Regions from separate parts of the Homo sapiens genome. Here region 1 is linked to region 2. Evidence: promoter capture Hi-C in 16 types of primary human blood cells and fetal thymus (Javierre and others, 2016). All regions are on one chromosome and are shown on one strand. Each heading gives the region's core, a stretch centred on a gene start or on the middle of the fragment in contact. The rest is flanking DNA. Distances are from core to core; before and after follow the strand shown. Region 1 overlaps ARHGAP22 (Rho GTPase activating protein 22). Region 2 holds the start of WDFY4 (WDFY family member 4).

The links. The method cuts DNA at HindIII sites, captures the fragments that hold promoters and counts their contacts. A CHiCAGO score of 5 or more calls a contact.
Region 1: a contact is called between a fragment that was not itself captured here and the fragment with the promoter of WDFY4 in region 2, in 1 of 17 cell types (total B cells). The highest score is 7.8, in total B cells.

Annotation. Positions count from the first base shown.
Region 1 is chr10:48,544,057-48,551,030 of GRCh38, reverse strand. The region is part of intron 3 of ARHGAP22 (Rho GTPase activating protein 22); the gene reads left to right. Among named protein-coding and RNA genes, the nearest start is that of ARHGAP22-IT1, 36 kb to the right of the region's middle. The HindIII fragment of the contact is 1,326 bases long and covers 2,525-3,850 here.
Region 2 is chr10:48,681,680-48,688,694 of GRCh38, reverse strand. It overlaps WDFY4 (WDFY family member 4), which reads right to left and starts at 3,822. Exons shown (of 62, transcript NM_001394531.1): 1 at 3,694-3,822. RefSeq lists enhancers at 3,032-3,572, 3,591-3,890, 4,821-4,900 and a silencer at 4,551-4,600. The HindIII fragment of the contact is 16,271 bases long and covers 1-7,015 here.

The DNA.
Region 1 (6,974 bases), core at 1,938-4,437, 140 kb after region 2:
TCTATGCCAGCACACCCCAGTCCGTGAGGGCCACAGTGCTGGGGGAGCAGCACAAAAAGAGCTTTGAACCAGATGTGAGGGAACAGAATTAAGGATTGGAGAGATCCTTAATGAGACTGTTAGAATAACTAAGAGTGGCACACACTCTGGACCCTGGGAAAATCACCAAGTGAGCAACGACTCAAAGGGAAGGTAGGAAGTGATAGGCATAGTTATTGGGAAAGTAAAACCATTTCATGTTTATTCTCCAGTGAGCTTAGCTTTTTTGTATTAGGGTAAGTGAACTGCTGGAATAACCCCCAAATCTCAGGATCTTGACACAAGAATGTATTTGTCTTTCATATAAAGTCAAAAATGAACACTTGTGATTGGCAGGCAGTTGATCTCCCAGCATCTTCCTATTTCATGGTTTCGCCATCTGAAACCTGTGGCTTGCAAAAGTATCCTAGTTGTTTCCATGCTAGGAGGCCATCATGCCTGGGAGATGTGTTGGTCCAGGCCTGGAAGTGGCCCCATCATCCCGTCACAGCCCATTGGCCAGAATGCAGTTGCATGGCTACACCTCGGAGCAAGAGAGTCTGGGAAATGGAGTCCACCTCTTTCCAGGAGGAAGGCAAGGCTGGTTTGGTGAACAGTCAGTAGTCCTGCCATTCTGTATAATGATCTGTTACCTTGGAGTAAGAAAGACACCTTCCTACCCTCACAGAATTAACAAGTTCAGGAAGCAGGCAGGAAGGCAGACATTGACTCACAGGATGAGAAAGGCTAGGAGGAGAGTAAAAAGGCAATTGTGTGAGCCTGGAGGAGGGGACCCTAATGCACGCAGGGAGTGCATGGGACTTCCAGGATAAAGTGACAACGACCCTGCTCTTTGAAGGTTAAGTGAGAGTCAGCCAGGTGAAGAATCAGGGAGAGCAGCTGGGCAGAAGCAGCAATGGGCAAGCACAGTGGGCACGGGGTCTGTGTGTCTCCTTCACACCTTAGTTCCAAGGCGCTCAGCACATAGGTAACTGAATTTAATGTAAGGATTGGAAGCAACAGGAGGTTAAGCTTTCTGCCAGAATGAAAAGTTGTCCTCTGTGGCAGGAGAATGGTGTCGGGCAGTGGTTCTCAAGCTTTAGTGAGCCTCCGCCTCATCTGGAGGGCTTGCAAAAAACACTGCTGAGTGGGCTCAGGGTCCAAGGTGGAGAGGCTGCCCCTGGTGTAGAGATAGTGGGGGACTTAGAATCCTGGAAGGGTGAATGAGATGGGCCTCACAAGCGGACTGAGTGAGAGGAGGTTTGAGTTAATTGGGGGCAGGCAAAGCTATAACCAATGTTTTAATTCTAATAATTATTATTCCAAGAGGAGGAGGACCGTATAATGTATAAGATGCTGGTTTGTGCTTTGATCTCCTGGCCCTTTTTAATCCCTAGGCCACTTGCCTCAGGGGAAGGTGAGGTCTCTGCAGCAGAAAGCAGAAATCTCCTGCTCTCCCACCCCAGATAATTGATGTGGACAGGGTCGGGAAAGAGGCGTTCCCCTAGACTGGTCACCCTGCCCCCAGCAATGCCCCAGGAAGGTGATAGGCATGGTGCCACCAGGAAAGCAGGCTCCAGACACCAGGGTCCCGCCTCAGACAGACACACCATGGTCAAGAAAGGCAGGAGAGCTACCTAGCTTCCAGCCCCAAGTGACTGCAGGTAAAGACATCAGGTGACCAGGAGGGACCAAGAACAGCCCATCCCATTGCCAGGCCCCATGTAAGCCTGACCACAGCAAAGAGGACCCCTTCCCTCCATCTCAATAGTAGCTGGGACTCAGCTCCCTTCCAGCCTGGGAACATAGGGCTTGGAGATAGAATTAACATGATTCTTTCTAACAAATATCATATTTGTTGAGTGCCTGAGGTTGTAGACCAAGGTGTGTATGAGTGCTAGTGGGCTAAACATTCACTGAGTTCCTTCTAAGGAATGAAGCTGAGCACACCACGTTTATCCTCACCACACTCCTGGGACTAACCTCTACTAACCCATCTAACAGGCAAGGCCCCTGGGACTCTGACAAGCTAAGTAACTTGCTGGGATCCGAGGGCCGGTGAGCGGTGGAACTGCAGCTTGAGCCAGCTCTAACCCCAGAGCCCTGCTCTTCCTCAGCCTGCTGAGGCTAGCTCCCCCGGGGCAGGCATGAAGGAGCCAGGCCCCACAAAGGGACTGAGACTCAAGGACCCCCAGGTCCTGCCCACCTGGTACTTCTGTCTTGCCAGGGCAGCTGCCTGGCAAACCCTGCCCCTCCCAGCCCTTTGAAAGCTGTCTGCTCCTTGCAGACTTGATCCTGGGGGCCTCTCAGACCTGGGCTTTTTGCTGATGTGGGCATCCAGCCCCAGGCCAAGTTTAGGCCTCCCTTTAAATCCACAAGGAGCGGGTGGGGAGTGGAGAGGCCTGCTTTGGCACTCTGGGCAAAAAGAGTTGCTAAGATCCCAGAGCAGGCCTGTCCCCAAAAAACGGCCATGTTTGGTGAGATGAATTAGGTCATCCGTTAAGCTTTGTAACTCATTGCTAAAATCCGTCTTCTGGAATTAGCACAATGCTATTGAAGGGAACCAAGTGGGTTGGTGCTATCAAAGGGAACCAAGTGGGTTGGCTGCAGGCTTGAGACCAGAACCATAAGTCTTTCTAGTGAGTAACCGTAAATGGGGTGGGGCCGGGGGAGTGGAGATTAAGAGTCCTGGTTGGAGCAGGTTGCAGAAGCCAGCTCTGGCTAACTCTAGCAAAGGGGAAATTCACCAGAAACCAGGGGGTAGGATGTGATGGGAGTGACACTTGTGGAAGGGGCAAGCGGCTGGGCTGTCACGGGGCCAGGAGCTGGGAGGGGCGAGCGGGTGGTACTCTGTGCTGGGAAGGTTGAATCTCGCCTGGCTCTGCAATCCCGGCATGGCTCACTTGCCGAAAGCCCAAAGTCTCAGTATCTGTGCTTAAGCTACATGCCTACCCCTGACTACACTGGGGTGGTGAGGAAGGGCCTATCCACTCTGGCATCTGGACCAGCCCTCCCAAGACTTCGCCTAGTGGGGGCAAGGAGACTCCAAAGGAACTTGGGTGCCTTCCAGAGGGGAGAGTAGAAGACAAACAGCCAGTCTCTGTCAAATGTTCACTGCTCCAGATGGTCCATGACTGTATTTCTGCAGGGCTGAGTGTCACATCATTGGCCTTGCCCTTTCCAAGTGCCAGACAAGGGGCCAGGACGGGATGCCTTTTCAACAACATTGCACCGAGCCGATGGCCCCCCACACTCAGGAGCAATTCCTACTTGTGGGGAAGGACCTGAGTGTGCAGTGCTGAGGATTAGCCCGAGGAAGACGTGAATGGCCACCCTGGATCTGAGGAAAAGGAGGAGGAGGAGAGTGCTCTGTTTTCTGGTGCAGAAGGAGGTGAAGGGTACCACAGCTGCTCTGAGGCCTGGGTCTAGTCCCCATCCTGGAGCACCTGTCTGCTTTGGGCTGGGAGCCCCATATTTCTCAAGATCAGGGTCAGGAGACTCGGGGGCCAGCTGTACCATTCAGAGGCCTGGCAAGCTCTCTGCTCTCCCACAGAGGTCCATGCTCCTTCCCTCCCACTGGGCTCCTTGGGGCCTCCCCCCCAACTCCCCAAACACCAGATGGGAATCCTGCAGGCAATAGGAGGCCTGGACAGGGATGGCTTTGAGGTCTTGGGTTTTCAGCTCCAACCAGTCTTCAGAGACCATGGTAGTAGCAAAGCTAGCATTGTGTCCCATGGGAATCAGGGCCATGGGGTTGATTGTCGCCAGACACACCACACGCGGATGCAGATGTTGCCTAGGCAAGCTGGTGTCTGCATGTAGAAAGGAAGCTTCCGAGGAAGAGCTGGGGAGGCAAGCCTGGGAGCCATCTTCCTGTTTGTGCCCATTTTCCACACACTCTCAACAGACATCAAGGGCCTCACAGCATCTAGTCAGTGCTGTTCCAGACCACCCATCTCTCCAGGCCAGAGTCAGGGAGAGCTGGATGTGAGCATAGCCATGCTACTCAGGGACTGTGTGGGTTTTGACAAGTCACAGAGGGCTCCGTGCCTCAATGTCCCATAAACTGGGGGTGAGAATATTGCCAAGCACCTTGGGTTGTGGTGAGGATTCACTGAGAACCCAGATCCTGGCTCATAGTAGGTACCTGGTCTAGATAAGCTCCCCTCCTCCCTGCATGCTCTCTAATCATTAATCGTTATGATTAATAACAGCAACCCAATCCCATCACAATGCTGTGTGATGAGTGCTCTGATAGAGGTGTCCCTGACTGAGACACTTTTATCTTTAGCTTCAGGATTTCCCTTGGCCAACGGCACAGTAAGTAACCTCAGAGTTCAAAGCATTCAGCAAACAATGGAAAGGCAGAGCCACCAGAAATGTACACATGATTTTCATGACAGGTATGGTAATGCCATGTTAGCTAGCGGAGCCTCTTTCTCTACTGCCCGTATGGACCTATGTTGCAACACCAATTGGAATTGGATGGAATCTGTGCCCTGTTGCCAGGGTCACCCCTAACGGAATGGAGAGATCAGTAATCATCCCAGCTGGTGTCATACTGAATTGTTTAAAACACAAATCATAATTGATGCCAAGTAAAAGCTCCATGTGCCCATTAAAATATGGCATTATGGAAAAAGTAAAGTACATTTGAATCCTTAAAAATAAAACAAAAACTATGTGTTAGAAAGATCACTCAGGGTAGACCAACTGAGGGGCTTACAAGAACTGTAATGTCTGATGCTCATCTCCACCAATGTCTATTCTGTGCCCCCACCCCTACCCTGGCAATGTCGACAGAAAAGACCACACTGCCACAGGAGTAGCGGGGACCCCTGTGGGAGGCAGCGCAGAAGCCAGGCTGCTTAAAGCAGAGCCCTGAGTCTTTCGTGCATTTACAAGTTTATGTGTCAAGTTCTCCAGGATCAAGCCAGGGAGTCCTGATCACTAACAACATCTCTGCCTTGGGGGCCTGTTTAAGTGGCTTCCAGACTCAGCTCAGACCCTAGCTCTCAAGGGCAACCAGATTAGATTTCTTCCCTTCTCTGAATCTCAGTTTCCCCCTGTGTAAGACGAGAGGGCTGGCCCAGTGACCTCCGACGTGTCTGCTTGAACGAGTAGAATGGCACCAGCTGGCATTCTATAGCCAAGTTTGTCCAGAGGGAGCCAGTTCCTGCCCGTCTTATGGCTACACAAGGTCATTGAAGTCGCCCTCAGGCATGGAGCTTGTAGCTGCCTGGCCTTATCCAGCCTGCCCTTGGAGCAGATAGGAGACTGCTGCCTGCTGTCTTAAAGGGAGGCCTGACCTTGAAGGAGAGCCAGTGTGCACAGATTACTCCGCAGAGGAGACAGATACTGTGTGTCTGACATGCCCAGAGCATCCCTGATCACATTAGCCGCCGCCTGAGTGGGGAGGATGCTGATACCGGCCTATCTCGGCACCTGGTACCAGCCAGCCTGAGTCTTGGCCTGACCTCGTGCAGCCCCTGCTGAGGTTGTCTGCAGAGCGCCAGATGATGGGTAATGACAGAAATGAAATTAGATGAGAAGTTTGCCAGTGATCCCCACCCCTGAGATGGGAGTGGCTCTTACACTTCCTGGCTTTGCAGTGGGGTTCTCCTGTCTTAGCCTCACTTCTCTCAGCTCAGCACAGGACCAGGTGTGGGAAACTCCTGCAGGCTCCCTGGAAAGAGTCCCCTTGAGCAGGATCATTCCTTTGGCCAAAATCGTGTCCTAGAGCAGCGCTCTTCTATAGAGATGTAATGCAAGCCATGTTTGTGGTTGTAAATTTTCTAGTGAGTACACATGTGAAAATATCTGCATAAATATATACACCTACTACACACTCACAAGGACTAAAAATTTAAAATTTTTTTAAAACTAAAAGGAAAGAAAGCTAGTGAAATTGTTCTTAATAATGTATTTTTATTTAAACTACTGGCTCCAAAATACTATCATTTCAATATGTAATCAAAATAAACATTAGTGAAATATTCCACATTCTTTTTTGCTTCCAAGTCTAAATTGGTATTTACACTTAAAGCACATTTCCATGCAGACACTAAATTTTCACTGGAAGTACTTGATATATATTTACTTATTCTAATTTTTTAATTTTTTAAATTGACACATAATAATTGTACATATTCATGGGGTACATAGTGATGTTTTGATACATATATTGTACAGTGATCAGATTAGGGTGATTAGCATATCCACCATCTCAAGCATTTACCATTTATTTGTGTTGCGAGCATTCACTGTCCTCCTATTTGAAATTATGTAATATATTAATTAACTATAGCCATCTTTGATCGGCATTTAGATTTCATAAAATGTATGATTGAAAAGTAGAGTCACATACCCAAGTTATTCCAAACATACTTAAATGTTTTTCAGCAATGGAACTGAATGTCAGTTTTTAAACTAATGTAAATTAAATTAAATTGACAATTCCATTGCTCAGGCACACCTGCTTCATTCACATGCTCAGGACCCACATGTGTGGTGGCACCGTATTGGACAGCACAGGCCTAGATGAGAACACCAGCATAGAACAGGTGCTCTACAGGCAAAAATGAAAGAAGCAAGGGGAGAAAGAGAAAGAAGGAAGGATGAACAAAGAAAGAACGGCAGGGATGGGGAGGGGGTGGGAGCCTCAGACTTGGAGTAAGACAGAGCTAGATTCACATTTGAGCTCTGCCATTTGCTCAATAAAAGAACCTGGACCAATAACTTAAATCCCATGGGCTTCATTTTCATCATCTGATCGTAGAAGGGAAACTGCCTACTTGGCAAGACAGCTGTAATCATCATGTGAAGTACGATATGCAGACGGCAGGACAGTTTCTCCCCTGACCCCACCCAGTCCTTTCTCTTTTTTTTTTTTGACGGAGTCTTGTTCTGTCACCCAGGCCGGAGTGCAGTGGCACGATCTTGGCTCACTGCAACCT
Region 2 (7,015 bases), core at 2,573-5,072:
GATAGTCTTGCTTCTTCCTTTGGTCTCCTACAATCTTCACATGACACCTAAAATGATTCTTGTTTAAAATGCTTGCATTTTGAACAAGAATCAGTCCAAATAGCAACAGTCCAAAAATGTATTTTAATGACAATTGACACAATATAAAAATATAAACCACTTAGGGATATGTCTAGTCAAAATATGCACTACTGCTATAAAGAAAATAGTAACATTGTATTTAAATACTTTAGAGAAGACCTAAATAAGTGGAGAGACAGACCACGTTTATGAATTGGAAAAGTCATTTTCATAAAGATATCACTTCTTTCCAAATTATATTTCCAGTCAAATCTGAACATAGTTTTTTTTTCTGTTGAAAGCCAATTCTGAAATTTATATGAATGAGTAAAATACCAAGAATTCTCAAGACAGGATGGAAGAAGAAAAGAATGGGGAGGCTCTTTCCAGATACCGAAATTTATTATAAACCTGTGGTTAACAATGTTGTCTAGCATTGTCAAAGGGTTAGACAAATTGACAGAATAGAGAACCAGGAAAGACCCCCATGCACATGACAACTCAACTCACAACAGAGCTATCATGGATCAGTGACTAAAGAATGGCCTATTAGGCCGGGTGTGGTGGCTCATGCCTGTAATCCCAGCACTTTGGGAGGCCGAGGTGGGTGGATCACCTGAGGTCAGGAGTTCAAGACCAGCCTGACCAACACAGTGAAACCCCATCCCTACTAAAAAACCCAAAAATTAGACAGATGTGGTGGCGCACGCCAGTAGTCCCAGCTACTGGAGAGGCTGAGGCAGAGGAATCGCTTGAACCTGGGAGGTGGAGGTTGCAGTGAGCTGAGATCGCACCACCGCACTCCAGCCTGGGTGACAGAACAAGAATCTGTCTCAAAAAAAAAAAAAAAAAATTAGCCAGGTGTGGTGGCATGTACCTGTAATCTCAGCTACTAGGGAGGCTGAGGCAGGATAATTGCTTGAACCTGGGAGGTGGAGGTTGCAGTGAGCCAAGATCATGCCATTGCACTCCAGCCTGGGTGACAGAGCAAGACTCCATCTCAAAAAAAAAAAAAAAAAAAAAGAATGGCCTATTAAATAAATGGTGCCAAGACTCTTGGTTATCCATATGGGAAAAGCAGAATAAAATAAAGTTTCTTCCCACCTCACGCCATACACAAAAGCCATTTCCAGGCAGACTAGAGACTTCAGTGTAAAAAGTAATATTATAACATTTTTTGAAAATAATATGAGAATAATTTTACAACCTTATAGTGGAGAATTTCTTAGATAACACATAACAAGTATAAATCATAAAGCGACAGGTGGATAAACTTATTTGAAACTAAGAAATTCAGTCATTAATAAAAACCACAGGAATATAAGGAGACAAGGCACCAACAAATGAAAAATATTTGTTATATATATAAATGACAAAAAGTAGTACCCAGAATATGTATTGAATTATGGCAAATCAATAGGATAAAAGACAGGTAACCCGATGAGAAATGGCCAAAAAATGTGAACAGGAAAAGGGACCCCAAATGGCCAATAAACATATGAAAAAGATGTCCAACCTTAGTAATTTGGTCAATGCAAATTAAAAACATGCTAAGATAGCTTTTCATTTCTACCAGATTGGCAGAAATACAGTACCAGACAATATCAAATGCTGATGAAGAAGTGGAGCAACAGAAACTTTGGTGCATTGCTGAGGGGTGGGTAAAATGAGGCAAAAACTTTGGAAAACAACGTGGTGACATCCAGTAAGGCTGACGATATGTACAACCTATGACCCACCAATTCTATTTCTAGAGTATATACCCAAGATAAATTCTTGCACACATGCCCCAAGATGCATGTACAAAAATAGTTCTAGCGGCACTGCTTATAATAGAAAAAAAAATAAACTCTTGAAATACCTAAAATGCCATCAACAGCATCTCAGATAAATATATTGAGGTACACTCATCTAATAGAATACTGTACTGCAGAAAACTTTAATTATCTACAGGTACATGCAACAATATGAAGAAATTTCAGAAACAAACTTTTGAACCAATTAGGCAAATTTTAAAAGAATATTTAATTCCATGTTTACAGAGTTCAACAACTTGCAATCATACATATATAGCGATTTAAATATGGGATGTAAAATTAGAAAAAGAAGCAAGGGAACAATAAACCCAAAATTCTGGACTGTTGCTGCTTCTGAAGAGGGAAGGTGAAAGATGGGCATGAAGAGGACCTCAGAGATGATGCTGATCTTTAAAAAAATCTAAGGTGTCAGCACACAGGGTTTATGCTGTTTTTATTACTTCTATCTTATTATGGTCTTTCTAAATTTTCTTTTCTTTCCTTCTTTTTTTTTTTTTTTTTTGGAGATGGAGTTTCATCGTGTTGTCCAGACTGGTCTTGAACTCCTGACCTCAGGTGATCTGCCCCTCTCAGCCTCCCAAAGTGCTGAGATTACAGGCGTGAACCACTGCGCCTGGCCGAAATTTTCTTTTCTTTCAACACAGAAAATCTTTCCAAGTTCATGAAAGAATAGCCCATGTGCTCAGGATGGACAGACAGGAAGGGCCTCCCTGACCTGACCCTGTTCCCTACCTCTCTGGCCAGAACCCCAGGCATGCCCCTTACCCGGCTCTGCCACACCAACCTCCACGAGGTCTCCTCCTCCAGACCCTTATCAAGAACACTTCTCAGAAACCCACAGGACTCGGCCTCCCTCACAGGTCCCCTCTCAGAAGACTAGAGCCATCCCCACCCTCCCAAGACCCCCACCCTACCTGCTATTCTCCCACCTGCTGAGCACCGTAGACCCCTGTCCGCTTTGACCAGAGCCTGGCAGGGCGTGGTTTCTCAATACCTATTTGTTAAATAACTAAATGAATGACTATACATAAACTCATATTAAAATTAGTGTGCTCCATGGAAAGGGTAATGCATAGAGCCCTTAGTTATCAAACCAGCCCCCCCACACTTTAGATGAGTTGGGACAAAGGATCGGTTTAGTGTTCTAGAAGTTTCATTTCAGGGGAAAAGAAGAATCAGTCCTTACTGAGCAGGTGGCCCTGCTTAGGCAGAAAATGCAGGCGTTTCAATGGTTTGCTGTAATAATTCAGATGAGGGAAGTGAGCCCAGGGAGGCACCTACTTACCAGAACCCAGTGGAGTAATGACAGGGCCGGGATAGACCAGCTCCCTCTGAGGCCCGTTGGAAATGGCCCTCCAACTCTGCACTCCTCAGAGGCCTATGAGGGAGCTTGGAGGGCGAGCCTCACTGTCCTGTCGGCCTGCTCTCTCCGCCCCCTCGACAACCAGGAAAGCCCGTGTCAGCCCTTCCCAGGGTTCCCTTCATAGCAGGACCCCGAGAAAGGACTTGACCTACCGTCAGAGGTCGAGGAGTGCTGCTGGAGCCCAGCCTGACTCCCAAACTTCAGCAGTGACACACACTCAGGCAGACCCAGGCCCTGGAGTGGCCCTGACCACATGGGCCCCCCACGCCACACACACTTCCTGCTCCCCAGCTCACCTCCTCTCCCACATTCACAAACCCAAACCAGGCACTGGGTCACATGTGCCCCATAGTCAGCCTCCCAGGAGGCAGCCAGTAGGCCCCACGCTGACAGGCGGCGCCCATATGCCCACCTCTAGGCTGGCCTGGCTGGGCCAAGAGCAAGGTGGCCTACCTGGAGGGGTGGCCGTCAGCGCCTGTAGACATCAGAAGGCATGGGCCCCCTATCCCCAGCTGCAGCCCCTCAGGCTCGGGGGAAGAGGACCCGGCCCCACATCGTCAGTCCTCAGCGCCGTTTCACTCTGAATCACTGGAGCTGGGTCTCTGCTCATTTCCTGGAGAAAGCAGAAGTGGAGAGCCGGCAGATGCCTGACTCTGCCCACTCTCCAGCCGACCACGGAGCTGCTGGAGTTCTGGCGGGTGACTTGGGTTCTGCAGCAAGGCCCCTTGGGGCTGGCTGTGCAGCCTCCGTGGTCAAGCGGTGCTGGTTGGGGCCAAGGACAAAATGGAAAGTACAGCCCAGCCCTAGAAGAGTAGGTCTGGATTCTGTGTCCCCTCTTCACTAGCCGTGTGACCACTGGTGCACACCTCTCCTCTCTGGGCCTCTGGCAAAATGAGAACAATGATGGTGTTAGGTGAATCTAATCAGAGGTGTGTTTAAGTGCACCCCTGGACATGGCATGGGTTGGGCAGCCCTCACCCCACCAAGCTCAGAGTTGCCCACTTGGATTTCTTCCTCCCCCATCCTCAGATAGAACTTGAACCACCAATGAGGGGAGTCCTCCTGCGGCCAACACTGAGGCAAGGATGAGAGGACATCTAAAACCATAGAATGGAAGTCTCTGAAACTCAGACTCCAAATTCTCATTCCTCTGAGTATATAAACTAGGCTGAATTATCCATGTCACCTATCCATAACGTCATCTCCACAGTACAAACAAGCATGTCCATTCACACACAATCCTGCTTGTGCTCTGTAAAAGGAGAATTTTGCCAAAGAGCAAGGGCACTTGTTAGCGCTAATGCCTGATCCTTGATCCTCAGTGCAGCTCATCGCTTGTCTCTAGCTCACAAAACCAGTGGACCATGCATGACTGACTGAGAGGCAGCAACAACATCACTTGTTATGACATGGAGTAAAGCTCCAAGATTGGTTTAAAGAGGAAAATAACATTTGTCACAAAACCTCAACCTCCACCAGTGCAAACTTGTCAGTAGACAGCAGCCAAAATAGGAGATCTATCCAGCTGCACTCCAGTCTGGACAGCAAGAGCGAAGCTCCGTCTCAAAAAAAAAAAAAAGAAAAAAAAGAAAAGAAAAGAGAAATTGAAAGGATACATGCAGTGCCAGCCAAGGGAAAGAGAAAACCTTAGAGAATTTGCAGTGAAGTGTTTGTTGTATATGATGAAAACCCCTCGTCATTGTCACCAATGAAATCATAAATAAAATCTACAAGAAGATATTGCCTGAAATCAGAGGCCTATGGTAAGAGCGGATTAGACAGAGGAACTTCCACAGAGGCAGGAAGGGTGGCCAGCATGGGACAGGCCAGGACCCCATGCCTGTGAATGCCCAGAGGAAGCGCGGAGAGTCTGTCATAGTGGGATCTCGCAAAGTCTGCTGGAGGGCCCACCTGCACCCAGGTCTCCTACCTTCTACCCACCCCAGCACCTTGCCGGGTAGCCAGCAGCAGGCAGGTAAAGAGCACTAAATTCAGAGCTAGAAACTCAAGGTTGAAATTCTCACTATCTTAACTGAGATAATTGACATCTTATTTGCAGAATGAATGAATGCCTTGTTAGAAGGAACAAATCAAATAATATTTGCAAGAGAGGTTTTTTTTTTTTGAGACGGAGTCTCGCTGTCGCCCAGGCTGGAGTGCAGTGACGCGATCTCGGCTCACTGCAGGCTCCGCCCCCCGGGGTTCACGCCATTCTCCTGCCTCAGCCTCCTGAGTAGCTGGGACTACAGGCGCCCACCACCTCGCCTGGCTAATTTTTTGTATTTTTAGTAGAGACGGGGTTTCACCGTGTTAGACAGGATGGTCTCGATCTCCCGACCTCGTGATCCGCCCATCTCGGCCTCCCAGAGTGCTGGGATTACAGGCGTAAGCCAGCGCACCCGGCCAAGAGAGTTTTTAAATACTGAAAAGGGCTGTGCAAATGCAAGCTATTATTAGTGAGAGAGTTGCCAAAGCTAAGACACTGAAGCAGCCAGGGCAACTATGAACTGCTAATGTAAATGTGTATTTTTGTTAAAGGGCAATGTAAGATTCTCTGATTTTTAAACAATTGCCCCAAAATGGCAGTTTTACTTCTGCACCCAGTTATGGTGGTGTAACTGGTATAGGACATACCCTCCCATTGAAAGCAACTATAGAATAGTTCAAATACACAAGATAATTGTTTTCAGGCATTGAATAGCAAGACTGTGATCCTTGAGATAAGGAAAACACACAAGGTGAGCCCCACAATTGCCCTGGAGTTTTTTCTAGTGATGCTTTTTCTGCTATGATGCAGGCAGGTGGGGCCCCAGAGACAGTAGTCTCCCTGAACTGAAAAGGTTTAAGTCAGAGTTCAAAGCTGCTGAAGGCTCTGGTATGTTCAGGGCAGGTTCCTGAGGAGAGTGTGCCTTGTGGGAACTCATTGTGTGTGCCCTTGGCCAAGGATTCCTATGTGTGCACAGGGTGAGACTCCAAGAGACCCAGCAGAGGTCAACTGACCCAAGGCCGAGCACTGAAGGAGGTAACAGAGAATGTGCAGTGCTTGGAATGTTGCAGTCGCATCCCATGGAGTGTGGAGAGACCTTGCTGAGCATTGTGGGACTTCACTTTACACCTCAGAGCCCTCACCCCACCAAGCTCAGAGCTGCCCTCTTGTATTCCTTCCTCCCCAATCCGCAGACCAAACTTGAAACACCAATCAGAGGAGTCCTCCTGCAGGCTAAACATGAAGGTAATGATGAGAGGAAATTTAAAACCATAAAACTCTGAAGCTCAGACTCCACACTGAAGAAGTAAGAACCACAGCCTAGAATAAAAGCCATAAAGTTGGAACAAGTTCAAAATTGAAATAAAATAGCTCCATGTGATAAGTTACTTTTATGAGTTAACTTGACTGGGCCATGAGGTGCCCAAACATTTGGCGAGACATTATTCTGGGCATGTCTGTGAGGGTATTTTTGGATGAGATGAACATTCGAATCAGTAGGCTGAGTCAAGCAGACTGTTCTCCCTAATATGCATGGGTGGTTTCCAATCGGTTGAAGACCTGAATAGAACAGAAGGCTGAGTAAGAGGACACTTTGGCTGCTTGACTCCTTGAGATGGAACATCAGTCATCTCCTGCCCTTGGACTGGAACACTTACAACACTGGCTCTTCTGATTCTCAGGCCTTTGAACTCAGACTGGACCTTACACCATTGGCTCTTCTGGGTCTCCAGTTTGTTGACTGAAGATCTTAAGACTTCTCATCCTCTATAATCATATGAGCCAATT